Linked DNA regions of Homo sapiens: region 1 is linked to region 2. The links are contacts of gene promoters, found by promoter capture Hi-C in human tissues and cell types (Jung and others, 2019). All regions are on one chromosome and are shown on one strand. Each heading gives the region's core, a stretch centred on a gene start or on the middle of the fragment in contact. The rest is flanking DNA. Distances are from core to core; before and after follow the strand shown.

What was found. Contacts are between HindIII fragments. The study calls those that stand out against the background at their distance.
Region 1: a fragment that was not itself captured here is called in contact with the fragment with the promoter of SEMA5B in region 2 in 1 of the 25 tissues and cell types used here (liver).

The regions. Positions count from the first base shown.
Region 1 is chr3:123,225,468-123,232,186 of GRCh38, reverse strand. The region is part of intron 4 of SEC22A (SEC22 homolog A, vesicle trafficking protein); the gene reads right to left. Among named protein-coding and RNA genes, the nearest start is that of SEC22A, 27 kb to the right of the region's middle. RefSeq lists a silencer at 2,828-3,028. The HindIII fragment of the contact is 6,296 bases long and covers 1-4,824 here.
Region 2 is chr3:123,024,889-123,031,310 of GRCh38, reverse strand. SEMA5B (semaphorin 5B) reads left to right here and starts at 3,548. Exons shown (of 23, transcript NM_001031702.4): 1 at 3,548-3,847. RefSeq lists an enhancer at 2,437-2,944. The HindIII fragment of the contact is 5,774 bases long and covers 1,190-6,422 here.

The DNA.
Region 1 (6,719 bases), core at 427-2,926, 200 kb before region 2:
CTCACTGCAACCTCCACCTCCCACGTTTTAAGCAATTCTCGTCCTCAGCCTCCTGAGCAGCTCGGATTACAGGCACGTGCCACCATGCTCAGCTAATTTTTTGTATTTTTAGTAGAAATGGGGTTTTGCTATGTTGGCCAGGCTAGTCTTGAACTCCTGGCTTCAAGTGATGCATCCACCTCAGCCTTCCAAAGTGTTGGGGTTGCAGGCATGAGCCACCGTGCCTGGCCCCTTCATTTCTAATTTGAGTAATTATTTTCTGGGTCAATCTAGCTAAGGGTTTGTCAGTTTTTTCAAAGAACCAACTTTTGGTTTTGTTGATTTTTCTCTACTGTTTTCCTATCCTCTATTTCATTTGTTTCTGTTCTAATCGTTATTTCCTTCCTTCTGTTTGCTTTAGGTTTAATTTGCTTTTCTTTTTCCATTATCTTTAAGTGGAAAGTTGTCTTCAAATCTGGTTTTTGTTTTTTTAAACATAGGCATTTACAGCGATAAATTTTCCTCTAAATTTAGCTTTTGCTACTACATCCTGTAAGTTTTGGTATGCTGAATCTTCATTTTCATTCATCTCAAAGTACGCATTTCCCTTTTGATTTAGTCTCTGACCCATTCACTATTTAGGAATGTACTGTCTAACTTCCACATATTTGTGAGTTTCCCAAATTTCTTTCTGTTTTCACTTCTAATTTCATCTAATGTAGCTGGAGAACATACTTTGTACTATTTCTATCCTTTTAAATTTATGAAGGTTTTGTTTTTCTTTTTGTTTTGTTTAGCTTAGCATAAGGTCTATCCTGGAGAATAGTTCACATGCACTTGAGAAGAACATAAATTCTGTTGTTAAATGGAGTATCCTAATAGATGTCTGTTATGTCTCACTGGCATATGGTGGTGCAGGTGTTCAAGTCTTCTATTTTCTTATCTTCTGCCTAATTGTTCTATCCATGATTGAAAGTTGTGTATTTAAGTCTCCAACTACCATTGTTCAATTGTCTATTTCTGTATTCACTTCTGGCAGGTTTTACTTAATGTACTTTGGGGCTCTGTTGTTAAATGCATGTATGTTTATAGCTCTATCTTAATTGATTCACCCTTTTATCATTATAAAATGTCATGCTTTACCTCTCATACCAATGTTTGTCGTAAAGTCCATTTTGTCTGATATTAGTATTGGTACTCCAGCTCTCTTTTCCTCTTCATTTATCTTTTTTTATCCTTTGACTTTCAATCTATTTGTATATTTGAATCTAAGGTATGTCTCCTGAAGACAACATATAGTTGCATCTTGTGTTTTTATTTTTACTCCAATCTTACAATCTCCATCTTTTGACTGGATTATTTAATATATTAACACTTTTTAAATCCATTCATATATAACATTATTACTGATATAGATTTACATCTGCCATTTTTTCCCTTTTTTCTTATCCATCTCATGCCTTTTTTGGCTCTATCCCTCCTTCACTTTTTTTTTTTTTTTTTTTTTTGCATGAAGTGAATATTTGGTAGTACGGTATTTTACTTTAATAATTTTTCACTACTTTTTATTTGCTTTGTGGTTGCTCTAAGCTTACCATGTACATCTTAACTGCAAGAATTTATACTATATTCTAATGAGCCACAGAAACATTACTCCTATATAGCTCTATTCCCTTTATCTCCTTTTTGTGGTATTGCTGTTATACATATCAATAAACATCACAAACTCCATAATGCATTGTTATAAATTATGACCTTCTATAATTTTATGTCTTCCAAAAATGCTAAGAAAGGATAGTAATTATATGTTTATAGCTCTTGTTAATATTTATCTTATCTTTCTGGCTTCCTTCATTAGTTCCTGTTGATTTGAATTATCATCTGGAGTAATTTCCTTATCCCAGTACAACTTTAATACCACCCATGTCCTTTTTGCTGTATGCGAAAACATATTACATTTCTATATGTTATAGGCCCAAATGACATTATATATACACTGTTTTATATGATCACTTTTTAAATCAGTTAAGAGTAGAGAGTAGAAGAAAAATGCATTAATGTATTTTTACGAGTCAGAGTCTTGCTCTACTGCCCAGGCTGGAGGGCAGCCTACCTCACTGCAACCTCAAATTCCTGGGCTCATGGGATCCTCCCACTTTGGCCTCCCAAAGTATTAAGATTACAGGCATGAGCCACCACACCGGGCCTTTACTGTCTTTTTTAATTACTTAATTACATTTACCCTTGTTCTTTGCTTTTTTTCAAATGGATTCAAATTATTTTCTAGGGTCACTTGTTTTCATCCTAAAGAATTTCCATTATTATTATTATTTATTTTTTTTTTTTGAGATGAAGTCTTGCTCTGTTGCCCAGGCTGGAGCACAGTGGCGCGATCTCGGCTCACGGCAATCTCCGCCTCCCGGGTTCAAGCAATTCTCCTGCCTCAGCCTCCTGAGTAGCTGGGATTACAGGCGTGTGGCACCATGCTCAGCTAATTTTTGTATTTTAGGTAGAGACGGGGTTTCACCATGTTGGCCAGGCTGGTCTTGAACTCCTGACCTCGTGATCTGCCCGCCTCAGCCTCCCAAAGTGTTGGGATTACAGGCGTAAGCCACAACATGCAGCCAAGAATTTCCTTTATTATTTCTTATAAGGTGTTTCTGCTAGTAACGAATTCTCTTATCTTTCATTTATCTGTAAATATCTTTACTTTGCCTTCATTTTTTTAAAAGATAACTTTGCTAGATATAAGATTCTTGGTTACTGGTAGTTTTTATTTTCTTTCTTTCAGCAATTTGTATGTCATTCCATTGCCTACTAGTCTCTATTGGTTCTGCTAAGAAGTCAGCTGTTAATCTTATTGAGGTTCACTGTAAGTGATGAGTTTTGGTTTCCTTTTAACTTTTATTTTAGGTTCAGGGACAGGTTTGTTATACAGGTAAACTCATGTAAGTGACAAGTTCTTTTTCTCTTGCTGATTTCAAGACTTTCTCCTTGTCTTTAGTTTTCAGCATTTTACTATGATTCATCTATTTGTGGATCTCGTGTGTATCCCATTTGGAGTTCACTGAGCTTCCTGCAAGAGCAGACTAATGTTCTTCAGTAAATCTGGGAACTTTTCAGCCATTATTTCCTCAAATATTTTTTCTGCTTTTTCTCCCCCTTCTTCTTCGGTATCCTATCACACCTATGTTAGCATGCCCCATTTTTTTGAGGTTCCATTCATTTTTCTTCATTCTTTTTTCTGTTTTTCAGATTAGATAATCTCTATCAATCTATCTTCAAATTGCTAACTCTTCTGCCAGTTCAAATCTATTGTTACGCCCTTCTAGTGAATTTTTCATTTTAGTAATTTTACTTAATTCCAGAATTTCCACTGTGTTTTTTAAAAATAATTTCTCTTTATTGGTATTGTCTATTTGATGCAACATTATCATACCTCCCCCTTTACTCCTTTAATAGTTTCCTTTAGTCTTTGAACATGATTATAATGACTACTTTGAAGCCTCTGTCTGTTAAATCTGACAGCTGATTGCTCTCAGAGGCAGTTTCTGTTACCTACATTCTGTCCCCTCTACCCCATGCCCACAGTGTGTGGGTCATATTTTCTTTCTTTTTTTTTTTTTTTTTTGAGATGGAGTTTTCGCTCTCGTTGCCCAGGCTAGAGTGCAATGGTGCAATCTCAGCTCACTGCCACCTCCGCCTCCTGGGTTCAAGCAATTCCCCTGCCTCAGCCTCTCGTGTAGCTGGGATTACAGGCATGTGCCACCCTGCCCAACTAATTTTTTTTTTTTTTTTTTTTTTTAGTAGAGACGGGATTTCTCCATGTTGGTCAGGCTGGTCGTGAACTCCCAACCCCAGGAGATCCGCCCGCCTTGGCCTCCCAAATGCTGGGATTATAGGTGTGAGCCTCCACACCTGGCCATATTTTCCTGTTTCTTTGCATGTCTTATAATTTACTGGAAATTGGACATTTTAGATAACATATTGTAACAATGTGGGTACTAGCCCACTCTCCCCCTACCACCCCTGACCAACTGGGCTTGTTATTGTTATCTGCTTGTTTACTAACTGACTGGATTATTTTAATGAAATTTGTTACCCTCTTCTCCCACATTTGTATGTGAAGTGTTGTATTCAGTCCAAATTTAAAGAATATTAACAAACTAAAGCATGTCTAGAGGAAGCTTCTAGGATGGGGAGAACTTGAAATGCCATAAATGAAAAGGCTAAGTGAACTGGAGTTTTTTTTTTTTTTTTCTGATGGAGCTCGCTTTGTCACCCAGGCTGGAGTGCAGTGGTACGATCTCAGCTCATTGCAACCTCTGCCTCCTGGATTCAAGCAATTCTCTGCCTCAGTCTCCCGAGTAACTGGGATTACAGGTGCCTGCCACCACACTCAGCTAATTTTTGTATTTTTAGTAGAGACAGGGTTTCACCATCTTGGCCAGGCTGGTCTTGAACTCCTGACCTCGTGATTCAAAAAGGTGCATGTTTGTTGCAGTTTAATTGAAAATTTTGCCCTTTGTCAATATACAATGATAAATGTGTTTGCTTTGTATTCTATAGTTGATATTGTCTTACATTTTTATTTCTTTTTTTATTATACTTTAAGTTCTGAGATACATGTGCAAAACGTGCAGGTTTGTTACATAAGTATACATGTGCCATGGTGGTTTGCCACATCCATCAACCCATCATCTATATTAGGTATTTCTCCTAATGCTATCCCTCCCCTTGCCCCCAACCCCTTGACAGGCCCCCGTGTGTGATGTTCCCCTCCCTGTGTCCATGTGTTCTCATTGGTGAATTGGAGATATTTATATGAAGTAGACTAGTCTAAGAGGATGGAAAGGACACACAGTTGCTGACTTAACTGTTATTCTGGTTCTGCTGAAGGAAGGGAGGAACAGATCACAAAACAAACTAGTAGACATAGGGAAGCTGACTTTAGCTCAATTATATAAGGAAGTTTTTTTTTTTTCCTAAAGCCTTAGGTTGGAATAATTTTCTTAAACAAATAGTCTGACAATGGCATATGCTACCTTATAAAATAATGAGGTGTTCATTTTAAGCAAAAGTTTATATCATTTCACAACTGTTGACGATAGTATTCCTTCTTTGGGATGGGAGGTTTGAGCAGACGATCACTAAAGTATTTACACCTTCCGTGACAGTCAAGAACACTGGCCTTGAATGTAGCCATTTTAACAAAATGCAAAGCACTTTACATGCCTATAAATATGCAGTACAAAGAACCTATTTTTCATTTCTAGAAAAATGTTTACAAAGAAACCTTAAATGTTTTCCTAGCCATATACAAAGATCAAATCAAAATGGATTAGACTTAAATCTAAGACCTCAAACCATGAAGTTACTAAAAGATAACATTGGGGAAACTCTCCAGGACATTGGCCTGGGCAAAGATCTCTTGAGTAATACCCCACAAGTACAGGCAACCAATGCAAAAGTGGACAAATTGCATTATATTGAGTTTAAAAGCTTCTGCTCAGCAAAGGAAACAACAAAGTGAAGAGACAACCCACAGAATGATAGAAAATATTTGCAAACTGAGAAGGGAATGTGAATCCCTATATTCATCTGACAAGGGATTAATAACTAGAATACACAATGAGCTCAAACAACTCTATATGAAAAAATCTAACAAGCCAATTAAAAAATGGGCAAAAGATCTGAATAGACATTTCTCAAAAGAGACATACAAATGGTAAACAGGTATATGAAAAGGTGCTCAACATCACCGATCATCAGAGAAATGCAAAACAAAACTACAACGAGACATCATTTCACCTCAGTTAAACTGGGTTTTATCCAAAAGACAGGCAATAATGAATGCTGGTGATGACGTGGAAGAAAGGGAACACTGTTGGTGGGGATGTAAATTAGTACAACCACTATGGAGAACAGTAGTAGTTTTGAGGTTCCTCAAAAACTAAAAAGAGAACTATCATATAATCCAGCAACCCCACTGCTAGCTATATACCCAAAAGAAAGGAAATCAGCATATCGAAGAGACATCTGCATTCTCATGTTTACTGCAGTATATTCACAACAGGTAAGACCTGGAAGCAACCTAAGTGCCCATCATCAGACAAACGGATTAACAAAATGTGGCACACATACACAACAGAGTATTATTCAGCCATAAAAAAAGAATGAGATCCTATCATTTGCAACAGCACGGATGAACTGGAGGACATTTTATTAACTGAAATAAACTAGACACAGAAAAGAAAAGTTTACATATTCTCACTCATTTGTGGGAGCTAAAGTTTAAAACAACTGAACTCATGGAGATAAGAGAGTAGAATTTTGGTTACTGGAGGATGGGAAGGGTAGTGGGGGTGGGAGAAAGGGTGATGGTTAATGGGTACATAATATAGTTAGCTAAAATGAATAAGATTTAGTACTTGATACCACAATAGGGTGACTACAGTCAACAATAATTTATTGTACATTTAAAAATTAACAGAGCACAACTGACATGTTTATAACACAAAGAAATAATAAATGCTTGAGGTGATGAATACCCCATTTACCCTAATGTGATTATTACACATTGCATACCTGTATCAAAATATCTCATGTACCCCATAAATATATTACACACCGAATATGTACCCATGAAAATTAACTTTTTTTAATTTTAAATTTAAAAAAATGTTTTTCTAGCAAAGAGATCCTCTGAGGTTGCTATTTGAAAGTATTTTCCCGATTAG
Region 2 (6,422 bases), core at 2,299-4,798:
ATACATGCTACTTCCTCTGCCTGGAATACTCTGCCTCCTCCTGCTTCTCTGTCTGGCAAATTCCTGCCTTATCTTCCATTCTCAGCTAGAATGGCCATTTCCAATGAAGACTTCTTTGTCCTGTTTGGTAGGATGGTAACTGGCTCTCCATGTGCCCGCAGAGCTCCCATCCTGTGGCAGTCCTTGCATTTGCTATGATTACGTCTGCCTCCCCTGCCTGCCTGTGAAGCTCTTCCTATGACCTCTCTGCCTAGCTTAGTGAGTGACACTTAAATGGGAAGGAAGGAAGGAAGGAAGGAAGATCTCTTCTTTCACATTAGTTCAGGACAATGGCAAAGCAGTCATTCAGTGACACTTCAGTTCCTCTGACCTGAGCAAGGTTTTGGTTCACAAATTGACAATGACTTCTGGGGTGGGAATTTTCTTTTTTCTTTGCCATCCCCAGGCACAATGAGCAGGCAATTCTGGGAGCAGAAAACAATTTGGACATTATACGTGCTGTCTTTTTATTTTCAATTCTCTGTCTCCTATTAGTATATGACTGGCTGTTTGCCTTTTGCTGCAAGACAAGGTTTGTGTTTGTGCCTGGGCTATGCACAAGCATGTGTACACACACACACACACATAGAGGGGAGAGAGAGAGAGAGAGAGAGAGAGAGAGAGAGAGAGAGAGAGAGAGAGAGAGAGATGGCCTCTTGGGAGAGCCTGCACTCATTTTTTAGCTTTATCTCCCAGAAAATGCCCTCAGGTGGGAGGAAGAAGACAGTGTTGTGCTCCTAGCTTTTCCACCCTTTCCTGCTCTTGAGCATGAGAATTTGGATCTATTTCTTAAACTCTTTCAACCTTAGTTCAAGATAAGTTTGGAATTTCTAGGTCAAGAGTGAATCCTAAAAACTCCGTCACCCCCTATATTCACCGCTCTTTAGCTTGTTTGCTTGAGATAACACTGTGTTAATTACTATATTTCCATTCTGCTTAATTACAATGTTTCGGTAGAAGAAGAATTGCTCCTAACAGAAGCAATTATCTTATAGGTTATTGCAAAGGTCTAAGGAAGGTGGCAGAAGCTGGTTGTGATACTGTGGTGATGGAATCAATGCTCCAGGTTTTGTTCCAAGTAAATGATTCAGAGATTCTAACCAGGCTGGGTTTGCCAAAGAGCAGGTGGTAAGCCAGGCCAGTAAAGAAACTGTCTCTTCCGGAGGGTTGGGCTTCTGAAGCTCTCTTGTATTGAGAGCTCTTGAGTAATCACTGTTAATCAATACAATGCTTTAGGATGCAATTAGGATTAATTAGCCCAATGTTGCTAGCTGCCCTGCTACTTGGTCTGTCTCTTTGGGTGCCTCCTTGTCCTGGCTCCTGCTTCCCCTGAAAAGGAAAATTTCCCTCTTTGTGTCCCCAGCCTGGAGTCTCCTCTCTTCCCTTCCTGTGCCAAGCCCCCAAACCCCCTCTCCACTTTATAACATGGAGAGGGAGAGCCAGGAAAGGCCTTGACATGATAGTGGGAAGAAAAGAATGAACACAATCAAAACATGGTAGCAAACAAGAGGGCAGGTGAGAGAATGTGTGAAGGGTGGAGAATATTTTGGTTATCTTTCAAGGGAGAGCTGTGGCTGACAGAGCCACTCAGAAGGCATTTTGTCTATTCTCCCAACCAGACAAATTGGAAGCTCTCCTGTTCATTCCCTGGTCCTGCAGTATGGAATAGCTTCGTGGTTTTTTGTGTTAATTAAAAGGTATCTCTATATTGCACATACTTCTATTTTTTGTGATGACAAAAACATTCCCCATGGCTCTGCAGGGAATGGGGGTTGGGGGGGGGGCACGCTCATTGCAGTGGAAAGGTTCCACGGTGGAGATCAGGAGACCTATCCCTATCTCAGCCTGGGACTCTGGGAGAATGGTCCAGAGCTCATTGTCCTTGTTGATAAAATGATAGATTTGGACTCAATATCCCATGCTGCCTCTTCCAACTTGATTTTTACCCCAGACTGGGCTACCAGACTGGTATGCCCACACATGCCCGTTTCCTTTCTTTTCTTCTCTGCATCTCTGCCTTTGTGTCCAGAGCGTGTTTTCCCTTTGCAAGTTTCTCTCCATTCTGCACATTATGAGTTTCAGCATTTCTGTTGCCCTAGAAAGTCTATCTTTGAGATCTTGCACTGTTTCTCTTTTTACAGTGTCTCATAAACTCCCTTCTTGGATTCAGAACCACCCTTTCTTTCCCATTATCCTGTCAAACTGCTTCTTGCCATGGTCCAGGGGTAGGAGGATGGCAGGCAGGAGGTGCTTCTCTGGGGCTCTTAGTGTCTCAATTCTTCTGCTTTATCTGGGTTTTCCTTTACCCAGAATTTTATTATGTAAAATGCTTCACTCAGACTTTGTTCTAATTATCCAATTTTTGGCATACTCTAGAAAGTCTTTTGATATTTTCCTTCCTCCAACTTATCTATTTTTATTTCATAGTTCTCTTTGGTTATCTCTTAGAATCACACTTTCCTGGTTTTAATTTTTCAAATCCTTTGTCTTTCTCACTCGTTCTTAGGTCACCTTTTTTTACATTTTCAAATATATTTTTTGTTCAGCAGAGGGCTCCCTTCCCATCCCTCTTGCAGCCCGGGCAGCTAGGATTTGAAGCTTGCCCCTTGAATCTTTCTCTCCCGCCTTCTAGCCATCAGAAACACTAGATCACTTAAACTTGTAAACAATTCGGCCTCGCTCCTTGTGATTGCGCTAAACCTTCCGTCCTCAGCTGAGAACGCTCCACCACCTCCCCGGATCGCTCATCTCTTGGCTGCCCTCCCACTGTTCCTGATGTTATTTTACTCCCCGTATCCCCTACTCGTTCTTCACAATTCTGTAGGGTGCGTATTACTAACCCCAGTTTACAGCTGAGGAAACTGAGGCTTGGAGAGGTTCGCTCGGTATCGTACAGTTTGCAAGGTTAACCCTAATCCGGCCAGTTCTGGCTTTCCAGCCCAGCCCAGCAGCCTAGCCTCCCTCTCTGCCGCTGCAGGTTATAACGGCTCTCCCCCGTTTTACACGAGGTCCCTTCCCCTTCAAATCCACAGGCAGGAAGATCGTTCCGAACTGACGGGGCTGGGGAATGTGGGAGTCCGGAGTGGGGTTTGGGGGAGCTTCCTCAGGCCCTGAGTGTTGGGGTGGGCAGGCCGCGCCGATGGCCCTCGGGGATGTCACATTCGAGATGGGGTGACCGAGAACGGCAAGGCGGGATGTGGCAAACGGCGGCAAGTGCTCGGAGTCCTAGGTCTTGCCGCCGGAATGCCGGCCGGGGAAGGGGCTTCGGCCCACCGGGCTGGTCACCACACTCGGCAGGCCCGGGGCGGGAGTCGGCCGAGCAGCCGCGGGATGCAGGGCGCCCCCTCGCGCTCCTCCGCGCGCCTCGAGGCTGGCGGGTGCAGCGCCCGCCGCGGCAGGTCTGCTCCAGCCCCCTCCTCTTTTTCGCTCCCGCTCCCCTCCTTCTCTCCCTTTGCTTGCAACTCCTCCCCCACCGCCCCCTCCCTCCTTCTGCTCCCGCGGTCTCCTCCTCCCTGCTCTCTCCGAGCGCCGGGTCGGGAGCTAGTTGGAGCGCGGGGGTTGGTGCCAGAGCCCAGCTCCGCCGAGCCGGGCGGGTCGGCAGCGCATCCAGCGGCTGCTGGGAGCCCGAGCGCAGCGGGCGCGGGCCCGGGTGGGGACTGCACCGGAGCGCTGAGAGCTGGAGGCCGTTCCTGCGCGGCCGCCCCATTCCCAGACCGGCCGCCAGCCCATCTGGTTAGCTCCCGCCGCTCCGCGCCGCCCGGGAGTCGGGAGCCGCGGGGAACCGGGCACCTGCACCCGCCTCTGGGAGGTGAGTCCCGGGAGCCCCGGGCGCTTCCCCTGCGCGGGTTGGGGCTGCAACTTGCAAACTTCAGCAACTCGGGTGGGTATCGGGGTAGAGAGGTAGGGGTCCGGGCTCTGGCAAGTTGAAGCCAGGTAGGTGAGGCTGCGGGCGGGAGGACAGGGGGTCCCCTGGCTTCCGCGCCTCCCGCTGCCACCTCGGCTTGAGAGCCCTCATCGCTGCTGCGTTCCCGCCGCCAGCCAGCTTGGGTCCGGGTTGCACTGGGCCCTGCCAGGGCTGTGGTCGGCGCATCTGGGCTGCAGCGGCGATGGGGACCCGGGACCCAGGCCTGGAGAAGGAGACGGACGAGTGAGGCTGAGGGACGGAGGGACAGAGGTGCGGAGATGGAGGCTCAGAGAGGGCCGGCTAGTAAACAGCACTGAGGGAGAGTGCGGGCGGCGAGGCGCGTGGGAACGCGTGGCCCGCCCAGAGTGTGAAATCTCCCGCTCAGGGACGTCCCTGCTCCACCGCCGCCGCCTGCGGAGCCGCCGCCCGGATTCTTCCCAGACCCGCCTCCAGGACACTCTTGCCCTGACCAGGCCTGCGGAGCGTGAACTCTGCCCACCAGGCTCCAGGGGCAGTGGCTCAGGGCCCCGCACTCCCGGCTGGGAGGGTGGAGAGGGGTGCGGCAGCTGGAAGCAGGGACGCGAGCGGCGATTTCCCGATTTATGTTTCTCATGGTAATTTGTCTTTGTGGTTGGGGCTGCCCATTCACTTTCCGCTCACGTCCTGCGGGAGATCCAGCGAGGAGGGAGGGAGCGGGGGGCGCTCGGGCACAGAGAGGGATGCAGACGGGAGAGGGGATCGGGGACCCGCGCGGGGCGGGAGCCAAGAGGGAAGTGGTCGCCGGACCGGCGGAGGAAGAAGGCGAGGCTCGAGAAAACCCGGCCCAACGGAGCCGACTCCTTTGCCCACCGCAAACTTTAAACAAGGAGGAGGATCACCTGCAGCGCCGTTCTGGCCCCCTCCTCCCCGCCCCCGCCCCCCACCTCGAGCCCAGTCTTTGGGTAGTTCCGACTGCCCGCCGCGCCAGGCGGGAGTGGGCCGAGAGTCTGGATGGGGAGAGAGGAGCGCTGGATTCTGCCCGCACCCCTGCGATCCTGCCCAGGCTTTCTGCAGAGGGGCGGGGTGAGAGCAGCAGGAGCCGGGAGGGCGGGCTACCCTGGCATGCACTCCTTCCCGGCCAACGGAATTGGGACTGAGGGTTTGGAAGCTTGCCTGTGTCTAGACCTCACCACGATCCTACCTTCTCTGGCCCTAACCCCATCTTTTTCCTTCAGCCCCTAGTGAATCCGACCTCCTTCCGCTTTTCTCAGGCACCCCAACCCACTTCGGCCTCGGGGCCTCTCTCCACAGCCCTCCCTGCCTGCTTGCTCCTCGGCCTCCCCACTTCAGCTCATCTTTTTAAGCCTGTTCTCTTCTTGACAATCAGCAGTGGCCTCTCACCTTTTCTAAGCCGGGACAGATGACCTTGAGGAAGGGGCAAGAGGGGAACTTGAACCTTGTAACTGGACCTCAAGATTACGGAAAAGGGGGGCAGATTTGAAAGCAGCTTGGAAAGAAACAGCCAGTACCTTTCCCGAAGTCTAGATTTTCAACGGAGGAGGAAAGGAGATAAAATATAGGAGAGATGGGGGAACTTGCCACTTGGTCACTCATGGGGCGGTGAGAACTGTTCTGGGCCTTGGGGCGTGGGGGTAGACCACTCGGGGCAGGGCTGCCTCTGGCTTGCTGTGTTGGGAAAGGTGTGTGTAGGTGAGTGTGGGTTTCAGGGGGAGCTCTTTTCTCCATATCAACACCTATCACCACCAGTTTGGGAAGGAATGGCAGATCTTCCATCCCTTTTCTTTTTCCAAGCAGCCAGTGCCAGAGCCTTCCTCCTCCAAAGCCAACAGTAGCGACCATAATCATCACCGTGGACATCTAACACTGTTTAAGCACCTACTATGTGCAATGCACCATGCTAAATGCTGGTAGATAAAAAGAGGTACAGGGCCGAGCCCATGCCCAGAGAGGTTAGTAAGTTCACCAGTTTGATCCTGAGACACTTGTCTATGTGTTTGGGGAGGGAGAACATGGAGAGGAACATGCAGTGGCTGTACAGGCAGCAAGGTGCCTGATGACCCAAGGGTTTAGGAGAGGAAGGGTTAAAAAAAACTCGATGACTCAGGTGGGACAGAGAGCTGGGCTTATTGACTCTGCCCTGAGATAGGACAGCCAGCACCTCCTTTCCCACTAGGGAGGGGAAAAAGTTCCTTTACCACTTCTAGTGCCAGACTAGAAAACCAGAGAAGCCGAGAGGTCCAGCCCAACACTGTAGATTGCTACCTCCCCATTAGGACTGGAGGAGCCCCAGAAACTTTCTTGTCTTAGGATGAACTTCCTGGCTTGTTTGAAAGACCCTACAGTGGTCACTTCTTATTGAGACTCAAAGCTGGGAGAGGCCCTGGAGATTGTCCATGTCAGGGGAAGCACAAATTCAAATGCCTACAGAGGGCAGGCAGGTCACAGTGTGTTGATCAGGCAATTAGAGTGGCCCAGCTTA